Linked DNA regions of Homo sapiens: regions 2 and 3 are each linked to region 1. The links are contacts of gene promoters, found by promoter capture Hi-C in human tissues and cell types (Jung and others, 2019). All regions are on one chromosome and are shown on one strand. The core of a region is centred on a gene start or on the middle of the fragment in contact, and the rest is flanking DNA. Distances in the headings are between cores, read along the strand shown. Region 1 holds the start of FMN1 (formin 1). Region 2 has its middle 57 kb from the start of RYR3-DT. Region 3 has its middle 33 kb from the start of FMN1.

The links. The method cuts DNA at HindIII sites, captures the fragments that hold promoters and counts their contacts. A contact is called where the count stands out against the background at its distance.
Region 2: a fragment that was not itself captured here is called in contact with the fragment with the promoter of FMN1 in region 1 in 1 of the 25 tissues and cell types used here (aorta).
Region 3: a contact is called between a fragment that was not itself captured here and the fragment with the promoter of FMN1 in region 1, in 2 of the 25 tissues and cell types used here (bladder and psoas muscle).

The regions. Positions count from the first base shown.
Region 1 is chr15:33,192,026-33,196,446 of GRCh38, reverse strand. FMN1 (formin 1) reads left to right here and starts at 1,733. Exons shown (of 21, transcript NM_001277313.2): 1 at 1,733-1,869; 2 at 2,387-2,538. It overlaps LOC105370759 (a long non-coding RNA gene), which reads right to left and starts at 1,536. Exons shown (of 3, transcript XR_932090.3): 1 at 872-1,536. RefSeq lists silencers at 1,431-1,640, 1,415-1,754. The HindIII fragment of the contact is 9,448 bases long and covers 1-4,421 here.
Region 2 is chr15:33,251,446-33,255,866 of GRCh38, reverse strand. No RefSeq gene overlaps it. Among named protein-coding and RNA genes, the nearest start is that of RYR3-DT, 57 kb to the left of the region's middle. The HindIII fragment of the contact is 8,588 bases long and covers 1-4,421 here.
Region 3 is chr15:33,225,684-33,230,104 of GRCh38, reverse strand. No RefSeq gene overlaps it. Among named protein-coding and RNA genes, the nearest start is that of FMN1, 33 kb to the right of the region's middle. RefSeq lists an enhancer at 3,328-3,377. The HindIII fragment of the contact is 3,929 bases long and covers 1-3,798 here.

The sequences.
Region 1 (4,421 bases), core at 484-2,983:
TTCTAACTGATGATGATGATTTTTAGACAGGAGATATACGGACCTCGTATTGACTCTACTCCTAACTACGAACATGACCCAAGGACAATTACTTGAACTTTGGGAACCTCAGTTTTCTTATCTATAAGTGGAATTTACAAGGGGAAGATATGAGGATTGAAGGAGATAATGTATATGAAGTGCCTATGGAGCCGGGCACAGCACTTCACAACTGTAATCTCGGCATTTTGGGAGGCTGAGAAGGGAAGATCGCTTGAGCTTAGGAGTTTGAGACCAGCTTGGGCAATATGGTGAAACCCTGTCCCTACAAATAAAAAATTAAAAAATTAGCTGGACATGGTGGTGCCCGCCTGTAGTCCCAGGTACTTTGGAGGCTGAGTTGGGAGGATGGCTTTAGCCCACGGGGTTGAGGCTGCAGTGAGCCAAGATCGCACCACTGCACCCCAGCCTGGGTGACAGAGTGAGACCGTGTGTTAAAAAAACAAATAAATAAAGGGCCTATCAGTGTTTGGCTAATATTGTGATTAAGAATAAATCAGAGTTCCAATAAACTATTATTTCTAGAAAAAAAATAGTGAAAAAAATCACCTTAAAAATACCTTCCAAATTTTTTTCCCATTTACTTATTTGAAAACAGAATCTATTCAGGACAAAATTCTATCTTCAAGTACCAAATGGGTGATACAGTTCGCATTTATCCAAAAGCAGATTAAAGACAATGCCTTTTCTTGCCTACCTACTTGGAAAAGATCTCAGTGTCACTCAAATCACATTCCAAATCTCAACGACATTAAGGCCTCAAATCCTCTTAGGAAAGGTTTGAAGGTAGTTCATTTCAGTAATGATTAGACACTTGGGGACAAAACAGTACCTTGGCATCAAGGTCTGTACTGATTCACCAGCACAGAAATAGCAGTAACAAGATCTTCAACTCTGAGGTGTTCAAATAAGCAGACAAACTCCCTCGTGAGGCCCAGGCCTCTTGACATCCGGACTCAGTCTTTCTTTCTCAGATCGCCAAGGGTCTGGCCCATTTCTCAGCCTAAACCTATTTTGCGTTTAATTCAAACCAGTCAAAGTAACTTAACCGCCAGCAGTTAAAAAGCTACTAGGAGGAAGCGTAGGCAGGAGATGGGAGAGGAAAAGGCTCCTGTCAGGGTTTGGGCTTATGTGTGGATTCTTGAATTCTCCTTCTTTGTTCCTTTTAGCACTTACGATCAAGAACGGCTAGGCTGAGGGGGCAGGGGGGCCAGGCCACTGGAGCGAAACGGCCTCTCCGGATCTGGAGGCGTGGGAACCTCGGGAATAGTGGGGAGTTCCAGACCAGTTCCCTTCCCCCATCTGAACAAGTCCAGAGCGTGCGCCTTGAGAGGCGCTCGGAAACAGGGAAGCTGGGGACACGTAGCGAGAGACTGGTTGTCGCCCTGGCTGTCCGTCTTAGACCTAGCTTAGCGACCACCGCCTTCAATCCCTCAGCCCGGATCAGACGGTGCCAAAAGACAGCACTGCTTCCCAGCCTGGCCCAACGGCTCGGCTGCTGATTGGGCACCGCCGCCTCCCGCCCCGCCTCCCCTGCCACCTCGGGCGCCGCTGCACGTTTCCACTGGTCTTCAGCCCTGCCGATCAGTTTACTGCTCACCTCCCCCAAACAGCTCGTCAGGCCGGCGCGTGCTAGGAAGGCGGGGCCTGTGGCCTGTGGGGCGGAGCCTCGGTGGAGGTCGGCGCAGCTGCCCCTTTGGGCTTTGGCTCTGGACTGGAGCGCAGCATCCTTCGAGGCTGCAGCCGCCACGGCTGTTGCCGTAAGCAATCCTCCTGCCTCAGCCTCCCGAGTAGCTGGGACTCGGGACCAGCCTCCCGAGTATTGGTCAGGTAAAGAGAGTCTTGTCTGTTCTGCTGGCCATCTGCCCGTCTCTTCTTCCCGACCAAAGGCTGCCTGCTCCGCCTTCCCCCGTGGCTTTCAGGGTTCTTGGAATGAGGCATCAAGTCTATTTACCCCGCCAGCTTATCTTCCTCCCCTTCTGTGTCGGTTCCTCCAGCTCCCCCACCAAGCTGCTCCCAAGTACGTTGGTGGGCCCTCCGGGTCATCCCAACGCTCCTCACTACAGAACTCCTGTCGTTGACTCTCAGGTCCCAGCCCCCTTGACCCGCCAGTGCAGTCTCATTCCCAGCTTGGCACAGGAAAGGTGGAGGGCGGGAGGGCGGGAGGGCGGGGGACGGAGAGATGCAGAGCTTTTTTTTTTTTTTTTTTTTTTTTTTGAAGCTGGATGTGTTTAGCGCAGAGGGGGAGCACCACAATGGGATTGCATTGGGAACAGAAGCAGCTTCATGACTATGGTTGGCAATGACTAGAAAGGTATCTGTTGCTGCTTTTTGCTTGTGTTTATAGATGACATTTACCATCACCGTTTTCTTCTTCTTTCATCATCATCATCATCACCATTGCCACTACCACCACCTCCAAGGCCACTACCACCACAGCATCTCTGTTCCTCCATCAGAGCTCTTCAAGTTCTGTAAAGGCAGATTCTCTAAAGGCATGTAAGTGCTGACGGATCCCCCAACCCCCTCCCCCACCACCAAATAACGAACAGTGCTCTTGCCCCCTGAGGCCAGAGCCAAGCCCTCATTTAACTCAAGAACAAGTAGCTGGGAGCAGAGTGTGAGCTGGGAGGATTTTCCTTATCCTCATTTGCAATTGAGATTGCCAAAGAAAACCCTTTATTTTAATCATCCACATTTCTGCTTGCTGTCTCCTGGAGAGTTCCATGTTAGCACTCACACACTCCGAATGGGCTGAATGCAGAGCCTGAACCTGTGATATATATGGGGAGTGGCAGTCACTGAGAGGTGAATGTCCAGACCCAATCCTTTAAGAAGACCAGGTGGAGTAGCAGACAACCTGACTTTCTGCTACAGTAGCTCCAGCTGTACTAAAGCATGTTTACTATTCATGTTTGCATATGGGACATGTGCCATCATCTGCTATGCCCCCTTGCGTGTGTATTGGCAGGGGGGCGGAGGGGCGCATCTAAATTCCTAGGAGAGAGAATTATATTCTGTTCTCTACACCAGGTAGCATCTTATAGGCACACCAATGGGATTCAACAGCCGTTGCTTAGCTGTTTCTAGGGCTTACTGCAAATCTCTTGGATCACAGACTTATTAACCCTTTTTTGGGAGGGAAAACAGTATAGCTGAGAATTGCATACCAGATTAACTGTCGTTGTGGAAGATGTTGCTTCCACAATGAATCAATGAGGTCTCGGGTCTTCTTGATCAGATATCTAAACACTAGTCTCCTTTCTCTCAACTGTGTTACAGTCCAGGAGCAGGACCAATGAATAGTTAGACATATTGCAGGAACAAAGAAGCAATGGCCTCAATGGAGGGAAACAATGGAGAAGAGTAGTGAGACAGTATATTGTAATGGCTAAACTCATAAACCTGTCAGACATAGGTTCAAATCCTGGACCAGCCACTGACTAGCTCAGTGATTTTTGCAAGTTGCTTGCCTCTTTAATTTTAATTTCTCGTCTGTAAAATAGGGATAATACTACCTGTCTCTTAGGAGAAGGTGTGAGGATTAAACGAGATAATATAGGTAAAATACTCAGTAGTTTCTGGCACATAAGTGGGGAATTTATAGTAACTGCTATTAATAATACTAGTCAAGAAGGATAATAAAGGCCAGTCTCGTTCCTAAAAATTATGCATTTTTTTCCATTGTCTTTATCCTTTTTAGGTGTCAGAGCTGATGCAAATGGGGTATGGTAGTCTTCAGGTTCCTTATAGCACTACATCTTAGAGGGGTGCCACTATTGAAGCCACCTGTGTTTGGACAGGCATTTCTCTCACCAGCCTTCACAAGTACTTAGCCGATTCTTAGTTGAGATACGTTAAAGATGCAGCTTTAGAGAAGATTTCCAGGCCTCTGGCCCTATTCTAGACTGCTTCTTTCTCACTGAGTGTTCAATGCATTGACTGTGATTGATGAAGCCTTTGTCACAGGCTTAACCCTGCCTAGACCAAATGCTTTGGCCAAGGGAATGGGGTCCCATAGGACCTATGATTGTCTAAGGGTAGGTCTCATATCCTGGTCATCCTCCCTTTCCAGACATAAAATTGGTGGAGCTGTTCCCAGAGGAAGAGGAATGGGGACAGACTGGAACTTGATGTGATGATGGTAAATATCCTTGATAGAAAATTGAGAAATGCTTCTCTCCTATCTCATATACCATGCCTCAAAGTCTAGTTTTACGTTAAAGTTTTGGATTCATGCACACCATCCCAAGCTGTGGTGTGCTTTAGATGATCTTGCCTTTAATGGTTTTCTTATTAAAACTTTATTCGTATCAGTGTAAAAGTTCATAATGGATATTTCATATCTTGCAGTGATGCTACTGGTTGGTAGTATGACCACG
Region 2 (4,421 bases), core at 1,036-3,535, 59 kb before region 1:
CACATATTTGCATATAAAATAAGGAATGCAAGATCTTTTGAAACACATATTCAATCTACATTTTTATCTTCTTCCAGGTACGCAATCCAGTGATTGAAAATTAATTCACCTTAGTCAGAAGACAGTTAATTCCTGACGCTGCAACAATTTGTCTTGTCAAGATGTGATATTTGCAGAGAACTAGAATAGCATGACAACAAAAACCCTTCTGACTTGTGGGATTTCAAACAAAAAGGTTAAAATTGCATTCTGCAGCTATACAAATTAGCGTAGACCTTCACTACAGCCTCAGGTACTGGAACAAAACTGGAGCAGTTCTCAATAAAATTAAGCTGTTGAGAATAAAAAAGAACTTGAAACAGTAAGTAGGAGTCTTCAATTCTGTTTCTTAAGCTGCTGAAGTTTACAGCTCCCTGCTGCATTATTACAAAGACAAACTGCTAGGTGAAGGAAAAGCTATAGGAAGTCCAAAGGGCTGATTATTTTTATGTATTTGTTTATGTATTTATTGATTGATTTTTTTCTTTATTTTTTTATCTTTTTTTTTTTTTTTTTTTTTTTTTTGGAGACAGAGTCTCTCTCTGTCGCCAAGGCTGGAGTGCAGTGGCATGATCTTGGCTCACTGCAACCTCCTCCTTTGGGGTTCAAGCAATTCTTGTGCCTCAGCCTCCTGAGTAGCTGGGATTACAGGGACCCGCCACCATGCCCAGCTAATTTTTTGTATTTTCAGTAGAGACGGGGATTTCACCATGTTGGCCAGGCTGTTCTGGAACTCCTGAGCTCAGGCAATTCACCCTCCTCAGCCTCCCAAAGGGCTGGGATTACAGGTGTGAGCCACTGCACCTGGCCGGTCTGATCATTTTTAGACTCATCTAAAAGGTCTTTGATACAGATAATATTTTTCTTTTTTCTTTTTTTTTTTTTTTGAGACAGAGTTTCACTCTTGTAGCCCAGGCTGGAGTGCAGTGGCACTGTCTTGGCTCACTGCAACGCCCGCCTCCCAGGTTCAAGTGATTCTTTTGCCTCAGCCTCCCAAGTAGCTGGGACTACAAGAGCACACCACCATGCCTGGCTAATTTTTTTGTTGTTGTTTACTTTTTTTTTTTTTTTTTTGAGACAGAGTCTTGCTCTGTCGCCAAAGCTGGAGTGCAGTGGCATGATCTTGGATCACCGCAACCTCCACCTCCCAGGTTCAAGCAATTATCCTGCCTCAGTCTCCTGAGTAGCTGGGATCACAGGTGTGCACTATGAAGCCCAGCTAATTTTTTTTTTTTAATTTTAGTAGACACAGGGTTTCACCATGTTGGCCAGGCTTGTCTTGAACTCCTGACCTCAGGTGATCTGCCCACCTCGGCCTCCCAAATTGCTGGGATTACAGGCATGAGCCATCGCACCCTGCCGATACCATTCTTTCTATTTGCTAGGATGGCATGAATGAAACTATTTATCAAGAAAGCAGGTGAGCATCTGTGTTTGTATTCACCAGCAAGTGGTTCATATTCATGGATTTTATACTGTATAGAAATGAACTAAGGAAAAAGGACATACTGTCCATACTCTTAAAAGCTTTTATGTATGTAGACCCAGGCTTCAAAATATGTTATATGGCATAGAAAGATCCAGAGTTTACTAACTAGTCATGCATCTGTCCTAGCTTGAGGGCTACTAAAGTTACTTAGGAATTCAAGTATAATTAATCACACATTTATATTCTGCCTATGCCATGGAAAAGGAAAAAAATCCAGTTATGACAGCATTTGCCTATGAATATGAAAACAAAATGCTGTATCACTACAACTGGATCTAATCAGCTGAAACTGTTAAAAGAGAATCATTTGGCTAACTGGCTTTTGACAAAAGTGCAAACCAATTCAGTGAAAGAAGGATAGCCTTTTCAACAACTGGTCCTGCAGCAATTGGACAACCACAGGAAAAAAAAAAAAAAAAAACACTCTACATAAACCTCAAATCTTCCAGAAAAATGAACCCAAAATGGATCATAGATTTAAATGTAAAACAGAAAACTATAAAACTTTTAGAATAAAACATAGGAGAAAATCCTAGGGACCCAGAGCTTTGTGAAGAGACCTAGATATGACACCAAATCCATAAAAGAAAAAAAAAATCTATAAATTGGGCATGAATTATTTTTTAAATTTGCTTTGTGAAAACTCTCTTTGGCACTGAAAAGACAAGCTACAGACTGGAAGAAAATATTTACAAGTCGCACACATGATAAAGTATTCATAGATAGAATGCATAAAGAATTCCCTAAACTCAATAGTATAAAAGCAAACAATACAATTAGAAAATGGGCAAGATACATGAGGAAACTTTCACCAAAAAGGATACACAGATGGCAAATAAGTACATGAAAAGATTAAATTCATTAGATTTTAGGGAAATGCAAATTAAGACCATGATCTGCTATTACTGCAAACCTACTAGAATAGCTAAAATAAAAAATGATGAAACCAAACGCTAGTAAGGATGCAAAGAAATTGGATCCCTTGTACATTTATCTGTGGGTGTGTAAGATGCTACAGCCACTCCAGAAAGTAGTTTGGCAGTTTTGTAAACAATTAAACATATATTTATGATACAACCCAGTAATCACACTCCTGGGCATTTATCCCAGAGACGTGAAAATTTACATCCACACAAAAACTTGTACACAATATTCACAGCGGGTTTATTTGTAATAGCCAAACCTAGAAGCTAGCAAAATGTCCTTCAACAGGTGAATAAACAAACTGTGTTATATCCATACCATAGAATGTTACTCAGCAATAAAAAGGAATAAACTATTGATACATGAAACAACTTGGATGGATTTCAGGGATAAAAAGAGTGGAACAAAAAGCCAATCTCAAAAGATCACACACCATATGATTCCATTTATAGAACATTCTGTAAGTAATAAAATTATAGATATGGGAAATACATTAGTGGCTGCTAGTGTTTAAGGATAGTGGAGGAGAAGAAAGTGAATGTGCCTATAAGGAGGTAGTATGAGGATGATCTCTGTGGTGGTGAAAGAGTTCCGAATCTTCATTGTGGTGGTTGCACAATCTACACTTGTGATAAAATGTCATAGAGGTATCTACACACATTGCACCAATCTCAATTTCCTGGTTTTGATATTGTACTATGGAAATGAAAGGTATTTGAGGAAAACTGTGTAATGAGTACATGGGGCCCCTTGGTGCTATGTTTTCCTATAAACATGTCTAAATAAAAAGTTTAAAAGAGAAAGAGAGGGAGACTATCATCTTTGAGCAATTCACTCTACAAAGATGACAAATGACTAAGACCTTTAAGAGATCCCAGTATGCCAGAGCCCTACTGGATCAAAGTGAAAACACTTTCTTGGCCAGTGAACAAAGACATTTGCCTTAATCTACCTAGTACAAACATGTGAATTCATTTATCCCTATCCAGAGTGCAAACTTTCCATTTTTAATTAGCATAACCCATCCAAATATTTGTTTCTAGCAGTAAACTCCCCCAACTTTTCTCTCTCAGTCAACTACTTAGTAAATTTGTTTACTGGTCCATGTATTTACTGGCAATTAAATCAACTCAAAGCTCACTATGTTGACCACTTAGTGGTCATAGCATATTTGTATCATGACAAAAGATTTGCAGCTTCAGACAGCCTTCATGCCCTATCTAAACATACAGGATTTACAGTTCCAAGTGCTAGGCTGGGTAAACAGTTGGGGAGTATGATTTATAGGTGACAGAGTGAAACTAAGGAAGAGCCCAAGGATGGTGTCCAGGGCAAAAACCAGAATATCTGAAGTAGAGGTGACTGATATGGTTTGGCTGTGTCCCCAACCAGATCTCATTTTGAATTCCCATGTGTTGTTTGAGGGACCTGGTGAGAGATAATTGAATCGTGGGGGGAAGTCTCTTCCATGCTGTTCTCACGATAGTGAATAAGTCTCACAAGATCTGATCATTCTATAAAGAGGAGTTCCCCTGCATGAATTCTCTCTCTTTTTGCCTGCCACCATCCATGTAAGACGTGACTTGCTCCTCCTTGCCTTCCTTCATGATTGTGAGGCCTGCCCAGCCGTGTGGAACTGTAAGTCCAATAAACCTCTTTCTTTTGTAAATTGCCCAGTCTCTGCTATGTCTTTTATCAGCAGTGTGAAAATGGACTAATACAGCGACAGCAAAAAAGTGAGGCCAAGAGGGCTGGACAGAGAAGCAGAAGCCAAAGAAGGATGTGGCAAAGGAAGGAACTACAGCTAGTCAGAACAGAGCGAGAATGATTGACAGAGACATAGCCTGGAGGAATGCCCTGAGGTGATGGATGAAGAGGGACTATTAATGATGCTGAACCAGTTTAGATACCGTTAATATAATAATGATGCCAGCCTGGGCAACATAGTGAGTCTCCATCTCTACAAAAA
Region 3 (4,421 bases), core at 585-3,084, 34 kb before region 1:
CCCAAAATCCTTCTATTCATTGTCGTAAATTTTACTTTGGAGCCCAATTATTCTTCTAGTTTAATAATTCCCATTAAAGATTTTAAAAAGCTTTGGATAAATGCTTTATTAAAGCATCACAGGCCATTTATACCTTAGTATGAGTAAAAAATGGAAGGGCTGGGTTCCATAGGGGATCGGGGGGACTTAAAGGAATTATTAGGCCATTGTCTTTTTTATTTTTTGGAGACAGTCTTGCTCTGTCACCTATGCTGGACAGCGGTGATGCAATCTTGGCTCACTACAACCTCCACCTTCTGGGTTCAAGCAATTCTCCTGCCTCAGCCTCCTTAGCAGGTGGGATTACATGGATGTGCCACTACCACAGCTAGCTTTTTTTTTTTTTTAGTGGAGACGGCATTTCAACATGTTGGCCAGGCTGGTCTCTAACTCCTCACCTCAAGTGATCTGCCCGCCTCAGCCTCCAAAAGTGCTGGGATTACAGGCATGAGCCACTGCGCCCAGCCGTCAACTGAAGAAGAGTGAGGGCATTGAATTCAGGGCTAACCAGGAAGCTAAAGTAATCCTTTGAAAGATGACTCCACCAAGAGCAGCCTTGTCTGAGTTGGCTGTCGGGGTAGGCATGTAAGGCTTTATTTCTCACACATAACCATGACCTTCTCAGGCAATAATTTTTAGTATAAAATAACTGGACTTGGGGAATCCCAACCCACTCCAGGGGTGACATTATTCCCTGCAGGTTGCTCTCTTGTAAGGCCCATTTGAAATGTTCATGGTTGATCTTTATCCCACACAACATACATATTTACTGGTTAGGTTTTCATCAGCTCCTTTGAAATCCTTGTCTTTACACTAAGGTCATCACCCTTTGTGTGTGAGTGTCAGCTTAAAAGACCATCAGTTGCCCCCTGAATAAACTGAATGTTTGTGTCTCCCCAAAATTCACATGCTGAGATTAAAATCCCCAATGTGATGGTATCTGGAGGTGGGGCCTTTGGGAGGTAATTGGGTGATGGGGGCAGAAGGATTAGTGCCATTACAAAAGGGACCTCAGGGAGCTCCCTTGCTCCTTCTGCCATGTGAGTACAAAGCAAGAAAATGGTCATCCATGAACCAGAAAGCAGGAAAATCAGAAATCAAATCTTCTGGTACCTTGGTCTTGGACTTTCCAACCTCCAGAACTATGAGAAATTAATTTCTGTTGTTTATAAGCTGCCCAGTCTATGATACTTTGTTATATAGCAGGCCAAACAGATGAAGATATCCCCTCTTGGGGTTCAATGAGTTTGAATCCTGAAGGGTCTGTGGTCTCCAAACTCAAGAGCTTCCAGCTCTGTGGCAGGGCCCATGAACAGGCAGGTCCTTCTCCATTTTCTTGGGCTGTAAAAGCCTTCCTTTCCAGGCTGCTATCCCATGGCTCTCAGCTGGCAAATCTGCCCCAGTGTGGGGTCATCTATCCTTAGCCAGCAGAGGGATGATTTTCCAGTAGTGTAAATAGGGTGATCCCCTGCTTGGAGGTTGGGATTTATTTTTCTTTTGGAGGGTTTTTCAGTAGATTGGTGAAGTCTGAATCTAACTTAAGGATTTTCAGATCCTGAATTTATCAGCCCCACTGAGCAGACACAGAAGAGTGGAGAGAGCTATAGCAGTGTCTTTCAGCAGTTCTTAGGAGTTCAGGGGTGGAAAGATGGGGCGAGGGCGAGGGCTAGGGCCGTGTGGTGGATGGGGAAAGTCTAAGAGAGTCTGATGGGCAAGGAAATAGATTTCCTGGATATGAATCCTTGCCTTTGCTAGAATTTCTCTGCTGAAAATGTAGGTGGTTAGGAGATTTCCTACCTTCCAGGTCAGCTAAACCTGGAACTACATTTACAGTCAACTTTAAACAAAACCCCCTGACAGTTTACACCCTACACAGTCCACAGTCAGTACTGTAGTCTGGAAATAAGAGATGAATCTAAGGTTTGGATGCTGAAAGATTCACCTGTCTCTCCAGGCATGGTCTGAGTATTTCTAATCTAGAGAATTTATAAGTCAACAATGGGCCTGAAATATAGTCTTCCAGTGACTTCTCATGTAATGGAAAACTCATCTTCTCCCCAAGGTTTTATCCTACTGGGAAGATCACCAGTGATCAATCTTAAAAGAGAAAATGTCCATTAGGAATTTTTATGTCCCTTCACCTGCATTACTTTGCTAGGAAAAATAGGCATGAGAGGATTGTATATTTTATTATATAATCCTACTTCAAAAGAGTTTATATTCTATTCACAAGGAAAAAGGAAAGTACTAACAAATGCAAAGAAGCATGAGGGAAGTGTCATCAAGATAATACAAAAAGGCTCAAAGGAAAAAGATGAACAAAAAGGAGCTAATGGGAGAGGTGTCATTTGATACAGGAATTGACCAAGAGATATGATTTCAACTCATGGAGATGGAGGAGGAAGGGCCTTCTAACTGAGGAAAGGTAAAAGACGGAAATTAAAATGTGCCCTCAGGCTTTAAATATCTTAATTGCCTGGGGGAGAGGCTAGAGGTAAATTGATCCTTCGATTATTTGGAGTTCATTATCCCAGCAGAGAAAGTCTTACAGCAGCTTACTTGATTACTAGTTGTTCAAGAAACTTTATTTATTATCCACTTATATCTGGTATGCAAGAAAGAGTTTAAAAGAATCAATAAACTTTGGTCTCCAGTGGATTAGGTATTGACACGACTGCGGAAGAAGAGAAAGTACAAGATAGTCCTGAGGGCTCCCCAAGGGTAAACCTTCTAAATGTTTAAACCTTCAAAACCATTGATTCCCAGAAATACTCAGAACAAAGTGAAGTATTTGCAAGAGAGAGAGAGAGAAAATTTTGTGGGCCTCCGGAAGAGGAATCCTGTTACTTCCTTTATAGCTGATTCTCAACCCTAGTAACACATCAGAATCACCCAGGGACAGTTTAAAATATTCATGCCTGGGCCCCAACTCCAGATATCTTGATTTTATTTAGGGGTATTGGTATCTTTGAAAAGCTCCTCCAGGTGATTCCATCACTAGATAGAACGTCTTGACTGTGAGTTTTCCAGGTTCTTGGCGTATTGAACAAAGAATTGAACAAAATGCACAAACAAAGCAACAAAAGAAGCAACAAAAGACAAAATAAAAGAGTAGAGTAATAAAGGCATAAATTTATTGAAGATGCAAAAGTACGATTAACAGAGTGGGAGCAGACTTGAGCAAGTGGCTCAAGAGCCTCCCTATTGCAATGCTCCCCAGGGTATTTATAAAGCCAAAAGAACTTGGCAATACCCCTAGGTGCCCTCTAGAGGCCTCCAACTGGTGGCAGTCTATGAAAAATTGACCTGAGGCCAATCAGAGTCTGAAGTGGAAACTTCTGTCTTGTTATCACAGGAAGGAGGATGTGGCTTGTATGCTGCCCAATCTTGGCTAGAACTGCCTGCACCTGCTGTTCTTTTGCTTATGCCTTAATCTTTGGTTACCCTAATTCCCTTTTCTCCTGCCTTAATTCCAATGTACAGCCAAGGCTGCAAACCACTGCTCTGAAAGCACTTTTGGTAACCTCCAGACTCCTTATATAAAGACAAGAGAGAACTGGGGAGAGTTATTTCCAAATTGGGAAAATTCCTTCTATGTAGGAAGAAAAAGTGGACCTTAATATGAAGCCACCCTTCCTGATTATTTTTTCATATTTGTAGCTGCTTTGGCATCTTCAGCCTTGAATTCCAACTGGGTCTGTATTTGCTCCTACCTACCTTACATTGATTATAACAGTCTCTTTAATATATTGGGTTCTTCCCACTACGTGGAGAGAATATAGAAATCAGGGTAAAGCTACAAATTGCCCCTTTCCCGACATGGTAGGCTGAATAACAGCCCCCCCAAAGATGTTGTCAGCCCAGGCAGCCATAATAAAATACCATAAACTATCAAATATTTATTTTTCACGGTTCTGGAGATTGGAAATACAAGATCAGGGTGCCAGCAGGGTTGAGTTAAGGTGAGAGCCCTCTTCTGGGTTGCAGGCTGCTAACTTGTATCCTCACACAGAGGAAAGAGCTGGCTGGCTCTCTGGCCTGTTCTTATAAGGGCACTAATCCTCAAGGGCTCTGCCTTCATGAACTAATTACCTCCCCAAAGCCCCACACACAAATACCATCACAGTGAGATTAGAGTCTTAACATAGGAATTTTAGAGGGAACACATTCAGTCCATTGCAAATGTGACAACATAGAATCCAGAACATGTGAATATGTTCCCTCCTGTGGGCCTCTGCAGAGGTGATTAATGATTTTAAGATGGTGAGAGTCCCTTGAATTTTCCAGGTGAGCCCAGTGTGATCACAAAGGGGAAAGGAGAATCGGAGTTTAAGAAGGTATGACAACAGAAGCAGAGATTTGAGTGATACAAGTGCTGGCTT